4 separate regions of the Homo sapiens genome follow, and all the other regions are linked to region 3. Evidence: promoter capture Hi-C in human tissues and cell types (Jung and others, 2019). All regions are on one chromosome and are shown on one strand. Each heading gives the region's core, a stretch centred on a gene start or on the middle of the fragment in contact. The rest is flanking DNA. Distances are from core to core; before and after follow the strand shown.

Region 1 (6,949 bases), core at 3,705-6,204, 340 kb after region 3:
GGAATGTTCTGATTTTCTGTTTTAATTTCATAGACATGCTGTTGTCCTGAAATGGCCTGACCCCCAGGTTAGTGCCACTCTTTCTAGGATCTGACGCTTCCCTCTTTCTTGACTTCCTTTTTCATTTTATTGTAGTATATCCTCAAGCATTTTTTTTTTCAAAGAGGCTACATGGGACATAAATTTTCTGAGTGCCTGACCAACAGAGTGGCACTGTTGTGTAGTAGTTAAGAGTGTAGAGTCTGCAGCCAAACTTCCTGGATTCAAAACCCAACTCTGCCTTCTACGAGTGGCATGATCTTTGGCAGGTTTCTCAACTTCTCTATACTTCTGGTTTTTCATTTGTAAAACCAGTGATAATAATAGTACCGAACTAGCTGGGCTGTTCTGAGTATAAAATAAATAAGTTAATAATTGCAACGAGCATGGAGATACAACTGGCTCATAGTAAGAGTTCATTAAATATTAGCCATTACTATAAACCTGAAAATGCCATGATTTTCCCTCACCTTTAACTAATAGTTAATCTGAGTATAAGATTCTAGATTTGAAATCATTTTCTCTTAAGTTTTGTGGAAACTCATGTGTTGCTCTTCAGATGCTTAATTCTATTTCCTTTGTGGGTAGTCTGCTTTTAAATGTTTTAACCATTCTGAGATATTTTAGCATTTTCTCTTTTTTACTTTATTTTATTTTTAGGCGACAGGGTCTCGCTCTGTCACCCAGGCTGGAGTGCAGTGGCGTGATCATAGCCCACTACAGCTGCCATCTCTCAAGCGATCCTCCCACCTCAGCCTCCTGAATAGCTGGGACTACAGGAATGCACCACCATGCCCAGCTAATTTTTTAATTTTTGTTTTTAGTAGATATGAGGTCTTACTATGTTGCTCAGGCTGGTCTCAAGCTCCTGAGCTCAAGCAATCCTCCTGCCTTGGCCTCACAAAATGCTGGGATTCAGGCGTGAGGCACCATACCCAAGCAGCATTTTCTCTTTATACTCAAAGTTCTAAAATTTCACCAGGATATGTCTAGGTGTAGTGTTTTCCTTTTATATTCATTAATGCTCAGAGAACTCTTTCATTTTGAGGATTCTAGCTTTTCTCCCAGGGACATTTTATTCTATTAATATATGTACAGTCTCCATTATATTATTTGTGCTTTCTTTTATAGTAATATCTAACATTTTCATAACTTTGTTTTCTTTCTTTATTCTTTTTTTTTTTTTTTTTTTAGAGAGATGGGCTGTCAGCATATCGCACAGGCTGAGGCCAGAGGATGACTTGAGGACAGGAATTCTCATGTGATCCTCCTGCCTCAGCCTCCCAAGTAGCTGGGATTACAGGTGCAAGTCATTTCATCTGGTTACAACTTTATTTACAAGATCACTAATTTGAGCTTTAACCTTGTTTATTATGTTCTTTTTGTTTGTTTTGAGACAGAGTCTCACTCTATCACCCAGGCTGGAGCTGGAGTGCAGGGGTGTGATCACAGCTCACTGCAACCTCAAACTCCTGAGCTCAGGCAATCCTCCCACCTCAACCTCCTGACTAGCTGGGACTATAGGTGCTTGCCACCATACTGGCTCATTCTGTTAATTCTATAATTTAGCTGTTCTATTTTTTTCTTTTAACAATCATATTTTGAGGCCTCTTCTTTTCTTTTTTTTTTTTTAAGACAGGGTCTCACTGCATCACCCAGGTTGGAGTGCAGTGGCACAATCACGGCTACTGCAACCTAAACCTCTGGGCTCAAGCGATCCTTCCACCTTAACCTCCTGAGTAGCTGGGACGACAGGTAAGTTTTACCACACCTGGCTAATTTTCAAATTTTTTGTAGAGATGGGGTTCTTGCTATGTTGCCCAGACTGGTCTCAAGCTCCTGGACTCAAGCAATCCTCTTGCCTTGGCCTTCCAAAGTGCTGAGATTACAGATGTGACTGACTGTGCCACTTATTTTCTTATTGATCTTTTAATAGCAGCCTATTTTTGTTCTAATCTTGCAATATCTTCCTAAATCTCCTTGAGAATACTATCTTTAATTTACAAAGGTTTTTTTTCTATTCCTTGCATCATCTCTTTCTTCTGAATTAATTGTTTGTTGCTTATTGATATTGATATTGATCTTTTTCTTTTTGTTATTAGTTTTCCTCAAAAGGACCATGTTAATTAGTATAGGTGGGCAGCTGAGCTTGCTTTACAGTTGTATAGATCTGATTACCCAACAACCTTCTTCCCTGACAAGCAGAGTTCTTTGGGCAAGAGGGTAGTTCCAGTGGATGCAGGCATCTCTTATAGTTCATAGACAGGGAGGCAATTGCCAATCAGCAAGGAGGGCTTGACTCTTGGGGATGAGCTGATTCTAGCTCAGTCAATCAGTGTTCTAGAGCCTCTAGATTCAGCACACATGCTATGTTCTCTTGATTTTTGTTTTGGCGGTCCACTTTAGGCTCTTTTCTACTTTTTCTCCAGTCCCAACAGCCATACCCAGTAGAAATGAAAATGCTCAACTGGCTGCTCTCTGCTCATATGAGAGGAAGTTGAGGAGCTTAGTGGTTCCTCAAAATTTTTGCCGTTCAGCCCAAACATCTTGATCTTTGTACCTGCTGACTGTGAACTTGGATTCTCTAGAAGCCTACTCTGGAAGAATGTCTCCTACCTCCTCTGTAGTTTTATTCTATGAGCATTTGGAATCATGATTTCTTCTCTTTGTTTTCTCTGACCATTTGAGCCCATTTGCATTCCAACTTCTAGAAAAACATAATTTCTTACCTGCTGAAGGCACGCTTTATTCCATGGATTTATTCCATTTCACATTATTCCTGAAATTGAATCAGGTCATGAGAGAGTTGGAAAATGTATGCTCATTCACTCATCTTGAGCCAGAACTTTCACACTAATTTTAAAAAATTAATCTTTAAAATCTATTTAATCTTTTGAATAGATAATACATAATACATTCACATCAATCAAAATCACAAGATATAAAAAGGTACTGAATGGAATAGGAAATGATTGCTCCACACTGGTAGTAAGCGTATATGCACGGGCTCCATGGCAACAGTGCAGACAAGAGCATCAGCTTCAGGGCAACCTGTGCTCCTCCTTCTGGACAGCGCTCAGCTCTACACAGTCTCAACAGCTGCAGCTTCACAACAGCATGAACCACGTTAATTAATACAATATACATGCATTGGAGAATATAGACCATTTCTCTGACTATACGCAAGAAAAACTTATCTGGCTGATTAATTCACTAACTGTAAGTAACTTATACAGACTAGTTGGTTTGCAAGTTTGAGGTGTGTGTGTGTGTGTGTGTGTGTGTATAAAGATAAATGTATATATAGTGTTATAAATGCATAGCTCTAAATTATGTACTTTTATATAAATATGACACTATATATTATATATCATAACATATAGACAATTATTCTGACATGGACTACAAATTTTTTTTGGTTTTACTTTTTTTTTTTTTTTTGAGATGGAGTCGTGCTCTGTCACTAGGCTGGAGTGCAGTGGCATGATCTTGGCTCACTGCAACCTCTGCCTCCCGGGTTCAAGCGATTCTCCTGCCTCAGCCTCCTGAGTAGCTGGGATTACAGGCGCGTGCCACCACGCAGGGCTAATTTTTGTATTTTTAGTAGAGATGGGATTTCACCATGTTGGCCAGGATGGTCTCAATCTCCCGATCTCATGATCCGCCTGCCTTGGCCTCCCAAAGTGCTGGGATTACAGGCGTGAGCCACCGCACCCGGCCTGTTTTACTTTTTTAATCTGCATTTTGTATGTTTTCTCATGCAGCTGTTTTTCTTTATGCTTAAATTTACCTTTTTTAAAATAATCCAGATTTTATTTCATAAAGACCATCCCTACCCTGGAATTACAGAAAATTATCCTGTGTTTTTCTATTCCTTTTACAGTTCTACTCTTCTACATTAGAAGTTTTACCATATTGGGTTTGGCTTCGTGTTAAATGTGTGAGGTTTTAATCCAACTGTATTTTTTCCAGATGGCCACCCATCTGTCCCAATAATTTATGCACTCAGTTTTGATTTTGGCATCTGGACCATTTTCCCCAACAATGGTCAACCTTTTAACATTCCAAATATGAGCCTGAGCAAAATGGCAGAATCTCTTTCAAGTAGAATGACTTTGAAGTCAGAAGCAAGGCCAGCAGAGGAAGACAGCCGTGAGATTCTAAGCCAGCAAATGCCAGCACTGGAAGCCACTGGCACAACTGATGAATCCTCTTGGACCCAGTGGGCTCCTTCACATGACGTCACACTGGAGTGAGCTCCTTTACAGTAGGTTCTCCTGGGACATGGCCTGCTGCTGTCCTGAAGAGGAGATCTCTTATGCATTGGATTTTCTGTTGGTTTTTAATAGCATAGGCCTAATAGAGACCTAGATGCCATGATATTCATTTTTCCATTTTCCCTGTGCATTTGCAACAGTTATCTTTGTCTATCATAGAAAACCCTTTGGTCAAAGGTAAGAGTAGATTAGAAGTCTTTTTCTTGTCAACCTCAGGAGAGCACGAACAAGCCTCCCATACAGGGAATTCTCCGTCAGGAATTTCTTTGGTTGTGACTTCTTTTCCTGGCAAGATGACTGTGATTTGCCTTCACACTTACACATTCTCTGTTAAAAGGTACAGTGTCTGATTGGGCCTGTGGCACTCTTTTATGTTGTTTCAATTTTTACTTATTCTACATAGTTTACAAAGGGTTGAGTTGCTTCTGGGGCCCTCAGTACCACAACTGGAGGTATGGTCAATGGACTCTTCCTACTCTGGAATTGTTGGGGGGTGGGAGAGCACTTTCTGAAAGCATTTGAAAAAGACAGATACATTTTTCTACACAGAATATTTCTCCCCGTATCTATCCAGGAAATGAATATGTTGGAGCTGAAAGGGAGAACATGGGATCAATTTGGGGACGTTTATTCATGTTTTTTTTTAGAAACTAGCATCATAGATTAGGTTCGTTTTTGTTCCTGTATCTTAATTACCATGACTCTTTTAGATTGCATGAAAAGCGATTATTTCCACCTCATTGTTTTCACCGCAGAGTCTATCTGTACTCATAATTAGACCTGGGATGTTAGAAGATGAAGAGTAGCGTGAAACAAAGAACTGAAAACTATGGGTGACATTTTACTTTCTGAAAACTTTTAAAACCTTAGAAAATCCTTCTCATGTGCTTTGAGGGAGAAATTTCTTCTGTCATCTTCTATTATTGGGTGACTAATGATTTAAAACTGGTTTAAACTGCACAGTAGCCCTGCAAATGTGGCATTCTCCTTTCTATTGCCTGGTTTGGCAAGAATGCTCAGCCAGCAAATAAAAACTCTGGCCAGCGTGGTAAGGTAACATAGGAAGGAAAATTAGAAGAGGCCAACTACGCTTTTATCATACAATAAATTTCTTACTATGTGGGAAAAAAATTTTCAGGTATAATAAATATAAAAGGACCTGAATTTAGGTTAACTGTCCAATAATTAATGTAGATTCAGGGGCACAGTAATACAAGGTATGAATTTGATAAATAAAATTATGGAAGTATAGATTTCATTCATCCTCTGAGTGCTTCACTTTTCTCCCCTCCCCTCCACTTCCCTCCCCTTTCGTCTCCTATTCTCTCCTCTCCTCTCCTCTTTTCTTTTTTTCTCAGCTCACTGCAACTTCCACCTCCCAGGTTCAAGCGATTCTCCTGCCTCAGCCTCTCAAGTAGTGCTAAGTTTTGTATTTTTAGTAGAGACGGGGTTTCATCATGTTGGCCAGGCTGGTCTCAAACTCCTGACCTCGGCCTCCCAGAGTGCTGAAATTACAGGCGTGAGCCACAGCGCCCAACCTGGGTGCTTTACTTTTTTAAGTTTACAAACCAAGGTTAATGTCCCTAAAGTTTGTAGATCCCATGTCAAGTTTTAACTGGAATGTTAATATTACAAAACTAGATAGTATAATTGCTTTTAAAAAATAGACTTGCTAGGCATGGTTGTGTGTGCCGGTAGTCCCAACTACTTGAGAGGCTGAGGTAGGAGGATCGCTTGAGCCCAGGAGTTCAAGAACAGCTTCGGCAACATAGCAAAATCCCTCTCTAAATAAATAAACACATCAATAAAATAAAATAAAATTTAAAAATAAGCTCAATGTAAATTTACTCTTACTAAAGTTATGAATATGTTTCCTTCCATTAGTTGATATTAGACTGTGACCTTTCTGCATTTAGAAGAGAGAAACTTTCTTCTCCTCCTCCTCTAAAATTATTGACCTGTTGGTTTCTAGACATTCCATCCAAAATACATATTAACTTCCTTGCTAAGTTCTAAGTCTAAGCCTCTCAGATGAAAATTGTACTTGGAAGTATAGGTCAGCTTCAGACTTGCCTATTTCACTACAGACTAGAACTAGATTTTCAACATTTTGTGAGAAGAAAATGTTAGGATTATATGTGATTATTTGTGACTTACTGACCTTTTATTTACACCCCATGCCATTGCTGTGAATAAGCTATGAGCTAAGATATTATTAAACTATGAGTTTAATAAGGACTTCAGTGTGGCTGGGTGCAGTGGCTCACACCCGTAATCCCAGCACTTTCTGGGACTGAGACAAGAGGATTGCTTGAGCTTAGGAGGTTGAGACCAGCCTGGGCAACATAGTGAGACCTTGTCTTGACAAAAAACCTTTTTAAAAATTAGCCCAGCTACTTGGGAGGCTGAGGCAGGAGGATTGCTTGAGCCCAGAACTGTGTTTGCACCACTGCACTCCAACCTGGATGACAGAGCAGGAGAGCAAGTTCCTGTCTCAAAAAAATTAATAAATAAAATAAAAGACGTCAGTGTGTTGATGTTTATATAACCCTTGCAAATTGATAGGAATTTGCCAAACTGCATTTGAGGCCAAATTTATGTGCAACCTCAGAAAGAGCATAGAACCTAGGGCT
Region 2 (6,803 bases), core at 1,590-4,089, 310 kb before region 3:
AGACTCTGTCTCAAAAAAAAAGAAAGAAAGAAAGAAAGAGAATTAAAAGCCAATAATAGATTAAAGATATTATACTACCTTTATCCAATGGAATTCTATGTTGATATTAAAATAATTTACATAAAGTCTATGTTACAATATATGCATGGTACAATAGCTACCATTTATTAAATGCTTACTATGTTCCAAGCTGTATATTAGATATGTATGGATATTACTTCCTTTCTGTCTCACAATAACCCTAGGAAGCAGGGTTTAAGGCTCTCTCGTTTTGTTGTTGCTGTTTTTTTTTTGTTTGTTTGTTTGTTTTTGAGACAGAGTCTTGCTCTGTCGCCCAGGCTAGAGTGCAGTGGCATAATCTTGGCTCACTGCAACCTCTGCCTCCCGGGTTCAAGCAATTCTCCTGCCTCAGCCTCCTGAGTAGCTGGGATTACAGGTGCATGCCACCATGCCTGGCTAATTTTTGTGTTTTTTTAGTAGAGACGGGGTCTCACCATGTTGGCCAGGCTGATCTTGAGCTCCTGACCGTGTGATCCTCCCTCCTCAGCCTTCCAAAGTGCTGGGATTACAGGATTACAGGCATAAGCCACCGCTCCCAGCCTATTTAAGGCTCCCTTAAAGGTTCTTCCTTCATGCTCGCTTCCCTCTTCCTATCTAGCTAGTCTCCTTTTCCACTTGATGAAAAGAGAACTCCTTATAGAAGCTCATAGCTGACTCCAGAGCCTGGGAGTTTAACCACTATCCTAAACTGTCTCCTATCTAATATGATACTAAACGGAAAAGCAAAAAGGAATTAGATTACAAAATTATTATATCCACTACAATTTAAACTTGACAGATGTTGCCTTTAGAAAAAATCTTGGAAATGAATACACAGGATTGATGACAGTTGTTTTAGGGTAATGGGATGCTAATTTTTTCAAAATTTTTTTGTAATATAGTTTATTCTTATAAGCTTAAATATTTTAAGGCCAAAATGAAAATTTTTGGGTTCTCAAATGATGAATCATTCTTTCCTTGCTCTAAAACATTCATCATGGTCATTGTAATGTTTTCACATTTTAAAAATATGCTAAGCAATTAAAAATGTTTTCCACAACATATGTGAAAGTAATGGTGATTAAGCATTGAAGCTTTAGAGCTTAAGGGGAGAAATATTGATAATCTCACAGAAACTCATCAATATAGTGCTGTGTAGGTTTTTATTTTATGTACATTGGCTCACTTGATCTTTCCAATGCCTGAAAGTTAGAACTTCAACTTTCTGAAAGTTGTCCAGAAAGCTAATTCCCTCAAGGCTCAATGAAGTCCCAGCTCTACCATATTTACTGTATTTACTGGCTAGTCTACATGTCCCAGAAAAAAGCCACTGGGGTGCTTTGCTCAACCCCACTTAGCACAGCTGGAAACACAGCTGCAGGATGCAGCTGTTCAAATCTCTCAAATAATCATCACTGAAAAATGCTGAAGAGGAAGGCCCTTTTGAAGATTCCTCTTTATCACCCCCCACTTCTGCCTGTCCCTGCAGGCCGGCTTCCCTTTCCCACTTAATAGGAAGAACACTTCTACTTACTGTTGTTAAACAACTAACAGCTGGTGAAAGAGGCGGCACCTGACTTCTTCCCCGCACTTAAGGCTCTCACAAACATAAATGCAACTGCAGAAATTTGGGGGACAAATATTGCCCCCACTGGGTAAAATCTCAGCAGAAACTGCAGCTTTTTTTTTTTTTGAGACAGAGTTTCACTCTTGTTGCCAAGGCTGGAGTGCAATGGTGCGATCTTGGCTCACTTCCACCTCTGCCTCCAGGGTTCAAGCGATTCTCTGCCTCAGCCTCCTGAGTAGCTGAGACTACAGGTGCTTGCCACCATGCCCAGCTAATTTTTTGTATTTTTAGTAGAGATGGGGTTTCACCATGTTAGGATGGTCTCGATCTCCTGACCTCGTGATCCACCTGCCTTGGCCTCCCGAAGTGCTGGCATTACAGGAGTGAGCCACCACGCCTGGCCAAAACAGTAGCTTTAATTCAGACTTAAAACACCTAACAGGGAAAACAAACTCTAAATGCCACTCCTCTTTTTTAAAAGTATAATTTTCTTCTGATTATAAAATTAATGCCTCATGTAGAAAAATGCAAAAATGAAAATGAGTTTAAAGAACATAAAATCACCGTAAGTGCTTTCACCCAGAAATAGCCTCTAATAATATACATATTTTTAAGAATCCTGACCTTTAAAAACTATGTGATTATATGTATTTTTCAAAAACATACATTTACATGCACTTTTAAATTCTGCCATTTGAGAATCATACTGCATATACCAGTTTCCTAATTTATTTTCAGTTAACATTACTTGGATCTTCCCATTTTATTAACTAAGCTGCAAAATTACATTTTTAATGTGTTATGCATAATATCATAACTTTAGAAACCATTCCCCCTACAGTTTTGTTGTAATATTAGCACCATCTGACTCCTCTTCCTGTATTCCTTAACTCCACTGTATCCTCATGGGCATTTAACACTCTCTGGCTTCAGTGAGAATTAAGCACAGGAAAAGGAAAAGCAGGCCATCTGTGCAGGAAGGTAAAACCAGTGTAAATTAAATGGGGTGTGAAAAAAAGGCACTTATGCTCTTTAAATATGTGCTACTTGAAAGAAATGCTTACCTATGTACAGAACTAATCACTGGACACACAAGCTTCAGGTGAATGATGGGTGCTAAGTGTTCTTTGTTCACAAAGCAAAAGCAATCCTATTTTTCAAAATAAGCTTTATAGCTCCAAAATGAACAAAAGAGATTTTGATCAAATCTTAAACATTTCAAGGACATTAAGCCAAACACAAAACAAACCTCCACCTCTGGTGATAGTGCCATTCTCCTCCTGGCCCTACTTATCAGCTCAGTTATTTTTGACTCTTTCTATTCATCCAGAGCTGTTTGCTCACACATTGTCATCTCCTTCTCACTGATGAGTTTTTGTTCTTCCATTTTTTTTTCTACTTCTCCCACCACTCATCTCCTCCTTGTCTTCATTGGAACACTTGCAGTGGAATAACATGGTGATAGAGAATGTGGGGTTTGAAGTCATGCTGAGCTTTTGAATTCTGTCTGTGGCAACTTATGCAAATAATTTATCCTCTCTGTCCCTTAGCCTCCAATTTGACAGATGGGGATGATGGTACCTACTTCATAGGACTGTTGTGAGGAGTACGTGTTACTTTCTGTAATGCACTATTAAAATAGTGCCCAGCACAGTGAGCACTTGACCAATATTGCTATTGTTCTTACTACTGGAGGAGCTCCCTCAATGTTTTCTCTGCTTTTAGGCTCTCAACTCACACACAAGAATAACTATAGTGACCTCTGTTGCCAGCTGTTTGCCTCCTGTGTGCCTAAGCTCAATACATGTTTTATTTTTATTCCTTACAACATTCTGTCCACTAGATATTATGCTCCGTTTTACAGATGGGAAAACAGACTTGAAAAAAATTACAATCCATCTTTTACAATTTCATTAAAAAACTGCAACATCCATTTTAGTCACATGATTTCTTTGCTCAAATGTCCCTAAGATATTCTATTAACTGCACACACCACTCTCACACACCTTACTTCAGTTTTCCAATCACAGATATTGGGTTAGTGTCTGTTAACTCATTCTCACTGCAACACAACGTAGCCATTCCAAATCTATCTCTCTGCCTTCTCAGCTCCAGTCCTGAGGTTCCTTTTTATTTTGCTCATGCTCCTTCCTTTCCTTATTACCATTTTCTATCATAAGAAAAGATTTAAATCTTCACCTTCTTCTAGAAGTGCAGTGAAATACTCTGTTCTTGTACTTCTTGGAGTACTTCACTCACATTGAAGGTCCCTAATTTAACTATGGATACCTTTTTAAAAAGAATCAATGCATGTGGTCAAAGATAAAATGATTGGTATATGTTGGTGAAATTTTGGAACAAGACATTGTGATTTTAAGATTTTTCCAGCCACTGACAGAGAAGCATAGTTTAGATGGCTGAGGTGGCCAAGCTGGCAGTGATGGTTTAAAGCTTCTCAGACTTCAGTGTGCAAAGCAATCACTTAGGGAACTGGCTAAAATCACTTAGGGAACTGGCTAAAATCACTTAGGGAACTGGTTAAAATCGCTTAGGGAACTGCTCAAAATGCAGATTCTGATTCTGCAGGCCTAGAGTGGAGCCTGATGTTCTGCATATCTGATAAAGTCTCAGGTGATGATGATGCTGATGCTGTTGATTCTTGAGTAGCAAGGGTTGAGGAGACATTCTCAAGGAAAAAATGGAAAAACTCTAATCGAGAACCATAGAAAAACACTAACTAATAAAGAGATAAAAAGCAAAAGTAACCTACAAATGACAAATATTTGTCAAGGAATAGAAAGACCCAAAGTTTTAAGGGATTTCAGGAATAAATTTGACTGGATGTACTTTTCATCTTTTATATTAACTTTAGATCCAAATTCTGCACGCCTCTCATGCACCTCTCCGTCACATAGGATTTATTATCTGCACTGTCTCCTAGCACTTTCTGGTCACTCCTGCATTCCATGTCCACTAGCGCTTTAGAATAATGTTTAAAGGCCTCTAGACGTCAGAACTTTTTATAGGTAAACGTGCAAAGAATTTAGGAAGTTGTAATGGGATGAAGCGGGAGGAAAAGAACAAGATCAGGAGTTAGAATTAGAGATTTTTGGAAGTAAGGTGATGGTCCAGAGAAACATCTTCAAACAAAATCTGGGACCAATGATCTGACAATAGAATAGCCAAAGTGAGCACAGATCATATATTTGAAAATTTAAAGCATGGGACACATCGTCCACACACATATAGAAAATAGTTGAGGAGACTAGAGGTACTTAGGCTGAGGAAGACGGAAAAAAGACAGATTGGCAGGGAAGGAGAGGGGAAGGGCATTGCAGAGAGAATACATGAGAAGCTACCTCAAATATCTGGAGTATGTGTCATCTCATGAAATAACTGTTTATTTCCAGTCCAAGGAGCTGAAAGACTATTTATCAGGAAGTGATTATAGGAAATTATCATATGGAGGAATATATTATGAAGAAAATTCCAGCATCCCAGCTTGGATTGCTGTCTTTCTATGATGGTTTCAAGATCTGGCCACTTATTCAGCTGACACCTGCGTTGCCACTGGTAAGTCTAGTCTTTTCAGGGACTTTGCAAGCTTCTTGAGAGGTTCAACCCCATAAGTAAATCTCTTTCTCCTTCTTTTTTTTTTTTAGACAGAGTCTCGCTCTGTTGCCCAGGCTGGAGCACAGTGGCCTAATCGGCTCACTGCAACCTCCGCCTCCCGGGTTCAACCTATTCTCATGCCTCAGCCTTCTGAGTAGCTGAGATTACAGGTGCCTGCCAACATACCCGGCTAATTTTTGTATTTTTATTAGAGACAGGGTTTTGCCACGTTGACCAGGCTGGTTTGGAACACCTGACCTCAAGTGATCCACCTGCCTCAGCCTCAAAATGCTGGGATTACACGTGTGAGCCACCGCACCCCACCCTCCTTCCTCTTTTTAGTGTGCCCTCTGGCCCATTTCTCCTTTTCTCCACCTAAAAATGTGAAAGTTTCTTGTGGAACAGAAGTCACAGAGACTGACTAGATGTCTGGTGATAACATTTTCTAAGCTAAATATAAGAAGCCCTGCTTTGACTTATAATCTGGTAACAGAGCCCACAGCTGATGTGGGCTGTGTCTCCCTAACCCAGCATATATAACCCCAGCCCCTCCAGAGGAGTGGCAGGTAGAGTCGGAATGGTTCCCCTGCTCCACTTGCTGTGGGCTCTCACCACAATGGGGACAGGTATTGAGGAAAAGCAGAAGGACTGGAGGCAGGGAAGCCATGAAGCAAGCATTGCTCCTTCCTCCTCTAAAAAAGGAAAAGTTCCCCTGTGAGGTTTCCTAGTTGAATTTATCAGCAAATACCTTAATCAAAGTTCATACTTTAGCAGGGACTCTTCTGAAATTCACTGAATCCAGGCACTGGACATAGGGGAGGCCCTGGAGTGGCAGTGGAGGGTAGGAGTGGCACAACGAAGGAAATAGGCTGATAAGGGAGGTAAGGAGGGCACCAGGATACTCTGTCCAGAGTTGGCTGTGCCACAGGTTGCCCTTTCCTCTTGTGTTATCTTGCCCATAGATTCTGTTACAGGAGTTATCTCCCTTTCTCAGAGAAAGAGCTGAGGTGGAGAGGATTTTAGTAGGAGAGTAGTGCATTGATGGTTTCCCCAGAGAAGGAGCTGTAGCCAATTGGACTATGTGTAGCATGTGTGTGTGTGTGTGTGTGTGTGTGTGTGTGTGTGTGTATACATACCAATGTGTGCAGGTGTGCCTGAGAGCTTGTGTGTTTTGCAACTTCAACTGATCAGAGGAGCATATATCTTTAACTACCCAAGTGGTAATGATAATGATGATGGCTAAGATTCATTTGGCTGTTTCTATATGGTGCTATTCTAGAGGCTTTACATACATTAACTCAATTTTCACAAGGACATTTTGAGCAAGAACTCTTTTAATCCCCACTTTGCAGACAAGAAAACTGATGGACAACGTGGTAAAGTAACTTGCCCAAGGTCATGCAGCCAGCACGGGGCAGAGCCTAGGTTTGAAACCAGACTGCCTGATTCGAGTCTGCTTTCTTTATTTAAAAAAATTTTAATTGATACCTAATAATTGTACATATTATGGGGTACATGTGATATTTGGATACATCCATACAATGTGTAATGATCAAATCAGAGTATTCAGGATATTCATCATCTC
Region 3 (7,006 bases), core at 3,493-5,992:
CATACTTCTGTGTTATTTAAATTGTTAAAATGAATGCTTATTACCTTTAAAAAGAGTAAATATAAACTGAAATGAAGAAGTAGTCTTAGAATTTGAACTATTTTTAGATATGAGGCAAAAAGAACTAATAGGATATATAGACACATGAGGGGGGCTTTATTAGGGGAATTGGCTCATGTGATTATGGAGGCTAACAAGTCCCACAACAGGCTATTTGCAAGCTGGAGATGCTGGTATGCTGGGAGTGTGGTTCAGTCCAAGTCTGAAGACCTGATGGCAGGGGTGCTGGTGTTAAGCACTAGAATCCAAAGGCCAGAGAGCTTGGTATTTTGATGTCCACGGCCAGGAGAAGAGTGTATCCCAGTTCCAGAAGACAGAGACTGTTTTTGTTCTACCCAGGCTCCCAGCTGATTGGATAGTGCCTGCCCACTTTGAGGGCGGATCCTCCCCTTGTAGTCCACTCAGACTCACATGCCAATCTCCTCTGTAAACACCCTCACTGACATACCCCAAAATAATGTTTTACCAGTTCTCTAGGTATTCCTAATCCAGTCAAGTTGACATCTAAAATTAATCATCACAGTTTCCTTTCTATTCTCTCCTTCTTTTATTCCATCTCCCTCCCCAGGCTTTGTTTTTATTATTTTATATTCTTTTTATATTTATATTCTTCCTTTGTTTTTTGTTTTCTATTTTCTTTCAAGGAATGCAACTTTGTCTTTGTACATATTTGAAACCACTATACTGTCTGTGAGACACTGTATTCATTTATATACAAGCTCAAAGCACCTCCCAAATAGATGTCCAATTAATTGTTGCTGAAATAAATTTAATTCCACATGGAAAATAATTGGATAGTATCATCCTGATTAAAATACTTCATAGTTGTGACATGAAATAACTATTCTTATTATTATTATTGGCGACAGGGTCTTAGTCTGTTGCCCAGCCTGGAGTGAGGTGGCATGATCATGGTTCACTGCAGCCTCAACCTCCTGGGCTCAAACGATTCTCCCACCTCAGCCTCCCAAGTAGATGGACTACAGGTGTGTGCCACCATGCCCAGCCACCACTGGTTTTTAAAAAAATTCCTGCAAACTATTTTTTCCTCACGTGGATATTGTATATTTGGTCATGTTTTCCTTACATGAATTTTAAAATTTACATCACCCCTTTTTGTTGAGACAGGGTCTCGCTCTGTCACCCAGGCTGGAGTGTGGTGGTGTGATCACAGCTCACTGCATCCCTGACCTCCCAGGCTCAAGCAATCCTTCCAGTGCACGCCACCACAGCTGGTCATTTTTTTAATTTTATTTTTAGTAGAAACTAGGTCTCACTATGTTGCTCAGACAGTATGTCCTTTGAATTCACACATTTTTATTGCCATAAAAATGCCAGAGATCATTAAAATAAAAATGTCCTCTTATAGAAACTAAAGACCAAAAAGTTAGGTGATTTATTCAAAACTGAAAAGGTGTTAAGTGACAGTATTAGAACCATGTTTTTCTTTTTTTTCTTTTTCTTTTTTTTTTTTTTTGAGATGGAGTCTTACTCTGTCACCCAGGCTGGAGTGCAGTAGCGCCATCTCGGCTCACTGCAACCTCCGCCTCCCAGGTTCAAGTGATTCTCCTGCCTCAGCCTCCTGAGTAGCTAGTAGCTGGGATTACAGGCACATGCCACCATGCGGGCTAATTTTTGTATTTTCAGTAGAGATGGGGTTTCACCATGTTGGCCAGTCTGGTCTCGAACTCCTGACCTTAAGTGATCCAACCACCTCAGCCTCCCAAAGTGCTGGAATTACAAGCATGAGCCACCATGCCTGGCCAGAACCATGTTTTTCAATCCAGTATATTTACAGCATGATTTCCTCCCTTAATTTGAACTTGATATTGTATTCTATTTATAAGTTAAATTAAAATAGCAGTTATTTCTGAAAAAGCTCCATCAAAATCAATACGTTGATTACCCATTTTTAAACGTGCCACTGTGGGTTTCTGTTGCTATGTGACAGGACTGATATTTTAAGTGCCTGGTAAAGTGCAACACACCAAGTGGACATTCAGTTTAAGGCTGTTTTATGATGCATATCATTTGTGCTTTTTACAGTTAAAATCAAATCTAAAATGTTGACAATGATGGTTCATATATCAACTTTACTCCTCCATTTTATAGCCCATCTTTTATTGATTTAGAACTCTGTACCTCTTTATTATATTGTAAATTTAAAAAATATGAAAACATCAGAGAGAATAATAAATCTTTACATCCAAACATAATAAGGAGGATGCTGCATATACAGAAATACACATGAACTTTTCTCTGGAAAGAATGGCCTATTACAAACCACCACTCTCTTCTATTTGCACATGAAGGTAGAAACCACAGTGGCATTAAGAGCATTTTTCCTTAAGACATGCTCACATGATATCTAGGAGGCCAACAGTAAGAACGTGAAAACTTAATTCTCTGCTAGGAAACAAATACATCAAAAGATCTGGTATTTTTAGTTTTGATGAAACTATACTGTTATTATCAATTTAAAATAGTTTTCTATTTGGCAGATTTTATCATTTGGGCTTAAATTTTGAGAAAAAACACTTTCCTAAAACAAAACTGAGATTTTTAAAAATATATTTAGATTTTAAATATATATAGATTTTTTAAAATATAAAACATACACAGAAGCATGTTGCACCAGGAGTCCATATCAGGAGTTACACTCTCTAGAGTGAATCCTAGAGATTGTATACATAAAAAAGCTACACCCTTATTCTGTTGGATGGCTCATAAATGTTGATCTGGTTATAGCTTTCCACACTAATTTTCACTATTTCTCTTAACAATCATCCTTTATAATCATTCTTTATATCCAAATAGTATATATCCTTTACTATTTGCTCTGATTTTGACAGGGAAAGGTCCTTCATAAGAATTTTGTTGTTCCATCAGAAGAAAGCATTTTAACGCCTCTAGCTCATTTTCCCCTCAAATATCCCAAATACAGTAAAGCCACCTAAATTCCCAAACCCCATATCAAAAACAGTACACTGAAAAACTCCAAAGACTTTGACAGCGACAAGACCGCCATTCATGTGTTCCTTCAGCAAGTGCCAGACGCTGTTATGAAAGTGATAAGACACTGTCCCAATCCTCACAGTGTGAGACAGTGAGCAGACTCAACAGAATGCATAGGATGAAAGTGCCAGAAAAGCGACGTCCTCAGGGCGGGAGCAGGGGACGCCGCAACGTAGTCTGCGAGAATGCAGGAAGGCGGCAGTGAAGCGGTCGGTCGGCGGGGCCGCGGCAAAGTGGGGAGGAAACTCATCCCGGGCAGGCGTCAGGGTGGCTGGAGAGCGCAGCACGCGCGAACAGAACGGGGGCAGGCGACAGGAAAACGTGTGAGCGCGCGGCTGAAAGCGACTGGGACCTGGGTGAGCCGCGCGCGGGGAGCAGAGCTTAGTCCTGCGGGAGCCGCAAGCAGGACAAGGGCGTGGGTGGGAGGACTGGAAGGTCAGCTGGTAGATGGGGGACACTGAGGGCAGGCAGAGCAACCGGAAGCTTGCTGCAGTCGACGAGAAGAGAAACTAGGAGGTTAAATAATCAGTGACTTTGAAAAAGTCAAAATACCTCCGAGGTAAAACAAAACATTTAACAACCCGCCGGGGGAAAAAGTGGAGGATGGCACACACGTCACTATCTAACCACAACGCGGAGGCCTTTTAAGTAAATAATGATAAAGTTTTTGTTGTTGTTTGAGACAGGGTCTCGCTCTGTCGCCCAGGCTGGAGTGCAGTGGAACGATCTCGGCTCACTGCAACCTCCGCCTCCCGGGTTCAAGCGATTCTCCCACCTCATCTTCCCGAGGAGCTGGGACCGCAGGTGCGCGCCACCACGGCCGGTTAATTTTATTTTTTGTAGAAACGAGATCTTAATACGTCGCTCAAGCTGGTCTCGAACTGCTGAGCTCAAGCGATCCGCCAGCCTCGGCCTCCCAAAGCGCTGGGATTACCGGCGTGAGCCACCGCGCACCTGGCCCAAATTTAATTTTGTGATGTGGGGTTAAGACATGGGAAAGCCCCTAGGCTCGGGGAGTCAGGCGGGAAAGCTCTCCCCCTGGCATCTAAAAAAATGCCCACCAGAAAGGAGGAAAGGTGGGCTTCCAAATTGCCGACTCTTCACTCCACAGGCTGCATTTCAGGTGGGCAGCGCAGCCAGGTGAACACTCAATCCACCGCAAACATGCGGACACTCTTTTCAATATCAGATTACCATAAAGATAAGGAGCACACCCTGCGCAAAATCCTTCCTGTCCAGTTCCCTTAAAGCCTCTTTCATTGTCCTCCGCGACGCAGCCTGTAAAACTGCCAAAGGAGGGCAGAGGCCAAAGTCCACGCGCTGCGCATGCGCACCATCCGCAGTGTGGGCGAAGGGCGGTGCTGGAAGGACGTTTCCCAGAAGGCCCCTCCAGCGCAGCTGCCCTTCCTCCCGCTCACAGGCCGCGTGACGTGACTCCACCCACCACGCTTCTCGGTCTCAAACAGCAGTTTGCCAGCGCCCCCCTGCGGCCCAACTGGGTACTACGAACATGCACTCAGGGCCAGAGCGAGCGAGTAAGCAGAATGTGGCGAGTCCGGCTGCCGCCGTCGTCACCTTAGCGCGCCGACAGCGAGGGAAGGGAGGAGGAGGGAGACGCGCAGGGAGGGGAGGGGAGGGAGGAGGCTAGACAAGGCGGGGGAAGGGGGAGTAGCGGTGGCTTAAGCCGCGCGGAGCAGCGCAACCTGGGTCGCTCCCTGCTTCGCCGCCGCCTCCGGACCGAGCCAGCGGAGTCAGTGTCCTAGAGACCCTGTAACACCACAAAGCGGACGAAGGAGTCCATGTTGGGGAACTTGGCAGCGGAGTGACTGGGACCTGGGAACCTACTGTGGGGCCGCGGCCGGACCGAGCGCCTCGACCTCGGTCTGAGGTAAACACTGGTCGACCCGCGGGGTGGATGGGCTTGGGCAGCTGTCTGGGAGAGACGAGGGTTAGCGGCCGGCGCAGAGCGCTGGAGCGGGCCTAGGGCGACGCGAGGGCTGACAAAGTTTCGGAATCTCGCGCGGCCCGTGCGACGTCGTGCGCTGGGAGGAAAGTTGGAGCTACCTCTCGAAGTGGGGGAGGCTGCGGCCGGGAGGGCCCCTTTCCCTCTCGCTGCCCCGCGAGGGAGGCTCGGCCCGGCCCTGGGCCGCCGCCGCCTCTCTGTCGCACTCTGTCCCATTTCCTCCTTGTGGCCTACGCGTCTCCCGCCGCCTTAGCTGGCGAAGCCTGTCCCCGTCCGGGTGCAGGGTCCTACGGGGGGGGGGGAAGGGGCTCCACGCCAGAACCGCCACAGACACCCTCCTCCCTGCAGTGGAAACGTGTCCTGCTGAGCTTCCGGGCGCTCCCGACCGCGGTGTCGGCTTTTCTTGGGAGACTTTGGTCGCGAGCGTCCAAGCCCGCTAGTGAAACCAAACTTTACTACGCCGTGACCTCTCGAGTGCGCGAATGGGGAAGAGCCGGCGCTTCTAAGCATCAGCCTTTTTCACTCCTTGATCTGAACTTCAAACTACTCATCCACCCCCAGTGTTTTAAATTCGCTACCTGGGCTGACAACTACGGGGCCGGGAGATATAAATTTAGCCTAATCAGTCGCCCCTTCTGAGACCTAGGAATTTTGAACCATTAAAAAGATTTCCTACAGATGGCTGGCGGTCTTGCCACCAACACGTATTTTGAAGTATTGTTTCAAAAGTAGACGCCTGATTTAGAGTACTTGATTTAGACATTCACGGATTCAAATGTTGAATTTTGAAATACTTCCAATATATTTCCGTATTGTATTACATACAGTGTCTACCAGCTGACTGTTGTTCATTCATTTTGGATTACATTTTGGCTAACATGCTACCACTGACCTAAGATACTTAAGCAAAACTGCTGAAAAATGTTTTTAATGCTTTGTGTAGTAGATGCTGATGTTAAATTTTTTTCTCCGATTTGGGAATTTTCCCCGAATTTTGGGAAAAGCATATTAATAAATGCATTATTTTTTCGTTTTAAAAGAAAAATTAATTTCTACATATCACCACCTACCTCAGCAGCAGAATATCAGGGCAGTACATTTTAAAATAACGGTTGGTTTTTGTATTTTATTAGTAATTGTATTAAAATTTTGACATGTAATCAAGTCTGTTTCTAAACAATTGCTTTCTCTTTCCTGTTTCTTTGGCAGTTGGCTTGATCATGTCACTATTTTGGTTAAAAGATGCAAGAAAAAGTTCATGGGCCTTTTGTTTTTGTTGTTTTAACTAAGCAAGAGAAATGAAATCTTGAAACTGTCTTTGGATTTCTTTTGTTTTATATTATCCTATCGGATAATCTGAATTTATATTTTTTATGCAATGTGAGTTTTTTAAAAACAGTTCTTAGGGTAGCTGCATTTTAGCTATAATATTTTTTGGTGCTTGCAGATATTTTAACAGTCATTCAGTTTTTCACATTCAGATAGTGAACTTTTTGCCTGAGAGTTTGAGTACATTTTAAGATTTCACTGGGGTAAAATTTGAATGTTTGCTTACTGTAAGTATACTCATGCTTTAAAGACATTCTTCAGTATAAAGGGGAAGAAAACTGTAGAAGAAAATTTAAAGTTTCTAAATATGTTGCCAGAAAACATGTCATGGAGAAAATTTTACGGATAATTTTTTAATTTTTTCTGTTAATACCTTCATGTGGTAATAGGGCTAGTGTGTTAAGATCGAAACTTTTCAGGAGTTACTTAGCTCTCTATCGTCCTTTGGCACCAACTAGAGCTTAGACAGTTTTCTGGAAAACCTGTGCTTTTATTCAGCAGAGATAGGATGAATCAGTGCAGTTACATGATACTGTTGATTCATCATCAGTAACATCTTTTAGTAATCAGAAAATACAGTACTATACTACCCATCAACTTAATACTGAACTTTTAAAGTATATCAGAGATAGTTGTAGC
Region 4 (6,049 bases), core at 2,101-4,600, 440 kb after region 3:
AGCTTCACATGTGAACATCAAAGGCCAAAGAACAGTGAAAGAACTGATATCAGTGCTCAAATAATTGTTTTTACACATATATATGTAAATTTCCTCTTGTTGCCTTCCTAATTTGATGGATAACTGATGATAATAAGGCACCAGAATGGGTGTGATTACGTTGTTGATGTGTGATACTGGTAGCAGGAGCACTGTGCTAAGAGGCAAGAGATGCATTTCCACTCCTGGCTTAGCAGGTAACCAGCTGTATGACCTTCAGCAAGTTACTTCCATTTTCCTGACCTCGGCTTTCCCAATGGTAAAATACTGGGGCCAGACCAGCTGAGCTCTAAACTCCCATCTAACTTCACATTCCATGGTTTGTTGTGTACAGTTCAATAGTATTTCTTTTCTTGTCTTGTTTGGGATATGGTTAAACATGGAAGAGAGCAAGGGCAGAGAAACTCTAAAATCACAATGAATTTTAAAGTCAACTAGAAATAGGTTTCATAGCAGATGAGTGTAGATACTTTTGCTTCATGTAGATTATTTTTTGAATATTCATATTTATTTTTAAATTATACTTTAATAAAAAATAGGCTCTTTACTCATGGTTTGTTTGTTTCTTTTTCCTTCCTTCCCAGATTCTTAGTATTTCTGCCTCTCAGTTATTTGTCTTGAAATTCTAGTAAAGTCCTGAAATGGAATGATTTATTGATTTATATCTGTCTCTTTCCAAAAGAACTAGGAGTGGCTTCTTGGTGTGTAGGCGGTGGTGGTATTAAGAGAACTGGCATTGTTACCCTGTTAATCCTTTATCTGACTGCTGGTGCTTTAGGATTTTCTGATACTTCCGCCTGGTGATTTTCCTCATGCTATGTTTATTGCTTATGTTTTTTAACTTCAGAATTCTTCAATTCTGAACTTTTTCTAGATGATGCGTTTTAGAAACATAATGTCTAGGCCTATCAATTGCATTCTACAGACTTAGTTTTTTGTAAAAATAGTTCCAAGTCCCCTATTTAATTTAGGTATAGCTCAATACAGTGACCCAGAAAAAAAAAAAAAAGGACCTTCTTTCCCTCTCCTTACCCGATTTTTAAACAAGTAATTTTAGATGCTAGTAAAATTGAAAAAACATATTTGAAAATGAGTGAGCTCTTTAACACAGGGCAAAATATAGTCGAACAAATGAGAGGCAGCATCATGACACATTATCTATCATAGCAAAAAGTGAAAAACAATGTAAGTGTCCAAAAATAGAGGTGTGATTAAACAAATGAGGGTACATTTGAAAAATTGTTCTGAGTGTATTGTTAGACAAAAGCAGGCTATATAACAGAATTTATAATATAATTTTAAAAATGTAAGACAATGTACAATGCATAGAAGAAAAGCCTGGAAGGATATAGCTGGAGACATTCACAGGGGCTCCATATTAAGAAGGTGGGGAATTAAGACTAATTTTAAATTTTTTTCTTGTTCAGCATCTGAAGTTTCCTAAACTGTCTACAAGAAACATGTATTATTTTGTAACAAGAAACAATACTACAAAAATAAATTTCAGTTGAATGAAATAGTAAATGAACAAATAAGTTAGTTAAAATCTTAGAATAAAATTTAGGAGACTATATTGAAAATGTGGCGACAGGGAGATCATGAAGACAAAGATGGGGAATCCAAAAACTATAAAAGAAAAGATATTTGACTTTATGAGAGCTTGTTTTGTCTGATAATAGATATCAAAAAATGGGCCAAAAACTGTTTTAAAAATATTTGCAATGCATATAGTAAATAAGAGGTTAGTATCTATAATATATACACAACTTCTACAAACACATTAACAAAAGAAACCCAAACAAGTCAGTAAACCAAGCTTGTGGATGGACAGGTCATACAACTGTGAAAGCAAACGCCATACAAAAAGATATTTGTCTTAGTCTGTTTTGTGCTGCTCTAACCACAATAAAAGAGACTGGATAACCTATAAAGAAAAGAAATTTATTTCTCACAGTTCTGCTGTTCTGGAGGCTGAGAAATCCAAGATCAAGGCACCAGCACCTGGTGAGGGCTTTCCTCCGGTGGCAAAAGGAGGCATCGCAAAGAAAGGGGGAGAGAGAGAGACAGAGAGTAAAAGGGGGTGGAATTTTCCCTTTGATTAGGAACTCACTCTTGTGATAATGGCATTAATTCGTCAATGAGGGCAGAGCCCTCATGACCTAATCACCTCCTAAAGGCTCCACCTTACAACTCTGTTGCATTGGAAATTAGGTTTCCAACATATGAACTTTATGACTCACATTCAAATCATAGCAATGTTCTATTTTCCCAGTAGTTAAGCAAATGTAGGTTAAATAAAAATGAAGTATTCAGAATGGCAGAAATCAAAAAGAGTGATAATGCCTAATGCTGTATGGACATAGGAGAAGAAGATCCTCTCAGCATTGCTGGTGGATGTGTAAAATGCTTTAACTTTTTTGGAAAGCAATCTGGCAATATCTAATATCTACTAAAATTTTTTCCAATAATCTGATAGAATAGGACATTATTTTCCTCTTCTAACATTTTTTTCCATGTAAAGAGAGCTCTGTTTGGAGAACAATCCTGACTTCTCTTCATTTCCCTAAGTGAATTATCTGATCGGTAAATTTGAGGATCGGGACTTAGACATGTGTTGCTCAGCCTGTCCTTTCCTACTTCTGGGATCTACTTACCTGCAGAGAGCATGAACGCTGATATTTTCTTGGCCAATAAGCTCAGTGGCTATGGGTCTGCCCCTGTAGCGGGCCTCTGGTTAATTAGCACTGCCTGGGCCTGGGTAGGAGGTGGGTTAGTATGGCTACTGCGGAGATGGGCTCCTCAGATCTCCTTCGAGAAAACTTGCTGTGCAAATTATATCTGGTTGACAGCCTCCAGCCATTAAACATTTACACATGCCACAGCACTCAGGCTGAGACCACCCTGTCTGGACGGGACAATCTTTATTCTGGTACCTTGAGTGATCTGGCTGAGACTTTCTCCGAGCTACCTTCTCCTATCCAGTCCTTCTTTCCCTCTCTCCTTTCCCAGTTGTCAGACTTGCATCACAACCTGAAGACTCTGTCTGCTTACTCCTGTCTGTTTTCATTTTATGCTTCATAAGTATTTCCTCCAATAATCATTTGCCAGTTGCATTCCAACTTGGTGACTGCTTCTCAGAGGACCCAGACACACAACTGGTACCAGGAGTGGTCTGAGGACGAAGGCAGTAGGATGGGTTGGGGGTTGGATAATTCGCTGGTGGCAAGGAGCACCCCACCCCATGAGTATTAGTTTCCTATTGCTGCTGTAACAAATTAGTGGCTTAAAACAGCATGTATTTATTATCTTAAAGTTCTGGAAGACAAAAGTCCAAAATGGGTCTCATTGGGCTAAAATCAAGATGTCAGCAGGGCTGTGTCCCTCTGGAGGCTCTCAGGGAGAATCTGTTTCCTTGCACTTTCCAGCTTCTAGAGGCCAGCGTTCCTTGGTTTATAGACCGTTCTTCAAAGCCAGTAGCATACATCTTCAAATTTCTCCCAGCTCTGACTTTTATCTCCCTTTTTCACTTATAAGGACTCTTGTGATCACACTGGGCCCACCCAGACAGTTCAGAATAGCCTTCCCATCTCAAGACCCTTAGCTTATTCACATCTGCAAAGTCCCATTTGCCATGTAAGTAAACATATTCACAGGTTCTGGTGACTAGGACAGAGACATCTTGTGGGGAAGGAGGGGCATTATTCTACTCTGCCTAATATGCCACGTATTATGTAGACATGGATAATCCCTGATATAAAGTGCAGTTCAATTGCTAAAAATTTAACCAGTGGTGACCTGGGTAGATGGAAATGCCCTTGATGATTCAGATATTTTAAATGCAATGGGGAGGAACAAATGCAGTGATGTTGGCAGTGATGTTAGTTGATGTTTAGAGGTTGTATTAATGCTCTGCAGGGAGATAATGAGAAGCTGAGGGCTATGAGTGAACATCTATAGGCTGAATGTGGGAGCTGGAGAGCCCCTCTGTAAGGCCTCTTTGGGAGTTTAGTAAGAGGCCCTAATCTCCTGCAGTGGAAGCATGGATGTAGCCGAGGAGCAAGTGTAGGACTTAGTAGTTAGAATCCAGGAGCTCCAGAGACCTGTAAATTCTCAACAAGTCAGGTCTGTACTGTTAAGATCAGGGCTCTGGTTGGGAAAGCTTAGGATCCTGAAATATGGGATGGGGACATCTGGGTGGTTGCCTGCAAGGACTGTAGCTGTGTGGACTCTTCTGAACCCACAACACTCTGAGCCCAACCCTCTCGATGAAAAGCTAGCCCTTCCCTCATGTGGGAAGACTGCTGTGGCCTTCCTCCACAAAGCAACAGGTGTTCCTCTAAGGAGCTGCCTCTACTGCCTCTCCTGAATGCCTCTATGATAACTAGGGTTAACTCCCAGCAGAGTTGAGCTAGGAATGTGCTAGGACTGATAAGGGAGGAAAGAGATTACACCTCAAAGGAGCTTCAAAGATTAAATAGCACTTACTGGCAGGAGCCAGGGAGGTACACTGGGGAATAAATTTTGATGAGGCTTAATCAAGGAGGCAGAACATACAACTGGATAAGCAAGAATTCACTGACTTTAGGGAACTTTCTCAGTACATGGGGTTTAACGCCGGCGAGGACCCCAGGGGATGGGGCAAACTTGCTGCTAGGGTCGCTCTTAGAAATCTGGGCTGGGGCCAGTGACCCAGCTGGCTGGTCAGAGGACTGGGGAAAAGGATGGACACTGTTTCTCAAGGACACCACCAGCATCTTGGTAGCAGCTCAGCTACAAAGGGTCACGTCCATCCTGGAAGGGCCAGTGGTTTGACCTCACAGGACAGATACTGATTCTCGGTGTTAGTTTGCCTTTCCTTTCTGCAAAGCCTCAGCCAAAACTCACCCAGGAGCTTGCCAAATGCCTGATCTGCAGGTGTGGAATCCCATACAGCATAGCATCTGACCATGGGACCCACTTCACAGGAGGTAGATCAAAACCAGCTGACTCAGACATATTTCTGCAATGTATTGTTAAGGGCAAAAAGCAAGATCTAGGGAAGTATATATATAGCATGAGCCTATTTTTGAAAATCAGAAAATGACAACCCTACTCCATGTTTGTTTATGTTTGTTTATGATTCTGACAACATGGAAAATGTCATGAAAGGATATGTACTGGCCACTAACCCTGGTTATGTTGGAGTTAGGATGAAGCAGAGGAATGTCTGGTAAAAAAGAGGAATGCTCAATGACAGAGGGAAGGAGGAGGATTTTAAAAAGTCTACATTTTAAAAAATTGCTCAGGATAAAAGAGTATTGTGATATTACTGTACCACTAAAATATAAATAGTGGTTATCTTAAAGTGATGGAATTCCAGAATATGCCAGCCTCTGTCCTCTGTTGCTTTCTGGCAATCACTCAGTCTTATATATGGAATCCTCTGTCCATCAACCACGTTGGTATTCAGTGTTTTAATCTGAAAGAAGAGAACCAAACCAAGCCTCCTGTGATATGCAAAGGCAGTGGTAGAGTTACAAGATTTCTAGACACACACACACACACACATACACACACACACACTTTTATATATAACAGTATATATGTATATATATATTTCAGTACAGCATAAAAAGTATCAACTTTGTACAACATGTCAGATAGGTTGCAAAGTGCTGGTGACACCAAGATGAATAAGACACAGTTTTACAGTATAAAGGGGGAATCAAAGCTATTTAATCTGTTAGATAGCAACAGATTAATTGAGTACCGTATGGAAGTGTTAGAAGCGTATTGACAGGGTAGTCTGGGGTCTCAGGGTGTGGGAAGGGGGTCACATAGCACAACCCAGGCTTGGGAAGGGTAAATGATACCCAATACCCCTCCAGCACCACATCAAGAAATGCCCATTTTCATTGCCTTAAGGACATGCAGTACAATCTTAGGTATTTTAAGAAAGACAGCACTTAAAATAAAGATTGAAAGGAAATATGTCAAAATCTGGACAGTGGTGATGAAGCTATTCCTTTCT

Evidence for each region. Contacts are between HindIII fragments. The study calls those that stand out against the background at their distance.
Region 1: a contact is called between a fragment that was not itself captured here and the fragment with the promoter of SCAF11 in region 3, in 1 of the 25 tissues and cell types used here (spleen).
Region 2: a fragment that was not itself captured here is called in contact with the fragment with the promoter of SCAF11 in region 3 in 1 of the 25 tissues and cell types used here (aorta).
Region 4: a fragment that was not itself captured here is called in contact with the fragment with the promoter of SCAF11 in region 3 in 1 of the 25 tissues and cell types used here (spleen).

The regions. Positions count from the first base shown.
Region 1 is chr12:45,651,539-45,658,487 of GRCh38, reverse strand. No RefSeq gene overlaps it. Among named protein-coding and RNA genes, the nearest start is that of LINC00938, 73 kb to the left of the region's middle. RefSeq lists a silencer at 3,018-3,107. The HindIII fragment of the contact is 6,928 bases long and covers 1,491-6,949 here.
Region 2 is chr12:46,295,786-46,302,588 of GRCh38, reverse strand. No RefSeq gene overlaps it. Among named protein-coding and RNA genes, the nearest start is that of SLC38A1, 30 kb to the right of the region's middle. The HindIII fragment of the contact is 3,590 bases long and covers 1,045-4,634 here.
Region 3 is chr12:45,988,310-45,995,315 of GRCh38, reverse strand. SCAF11 (SR-related CTD associated factor 11) reads left to right here and starts at 4,742. Exons shown (of 15, transcript NM_004719.3): 1 at 4,742-4,963. RefSeq lists enhancers at 3,629-3,828, 4,309-4,378, 4,389-4,588, 4,307-5,020, 4,829-5,038 and 1 more and silencers at 4,709-4,758, 5,099-5,198, 5,599-5,668. The HindIII fragment of the contact is 22,524 bases long and covers 1-7,006 here.
Region 4 is chr12:45,545,694-45,551,742 of GRCh38, reverse strand. All of the region lies in intron 1 of LOC105369743 (a long non-coding RNA gene), which reads left to right. Among named protein-coding and RNA genes, the nearest start is that of LINC00938, 180 kb to the left of the region's middle. The HindIII fragment of the contact is 4,842 bases long and covers 930-5,771 here.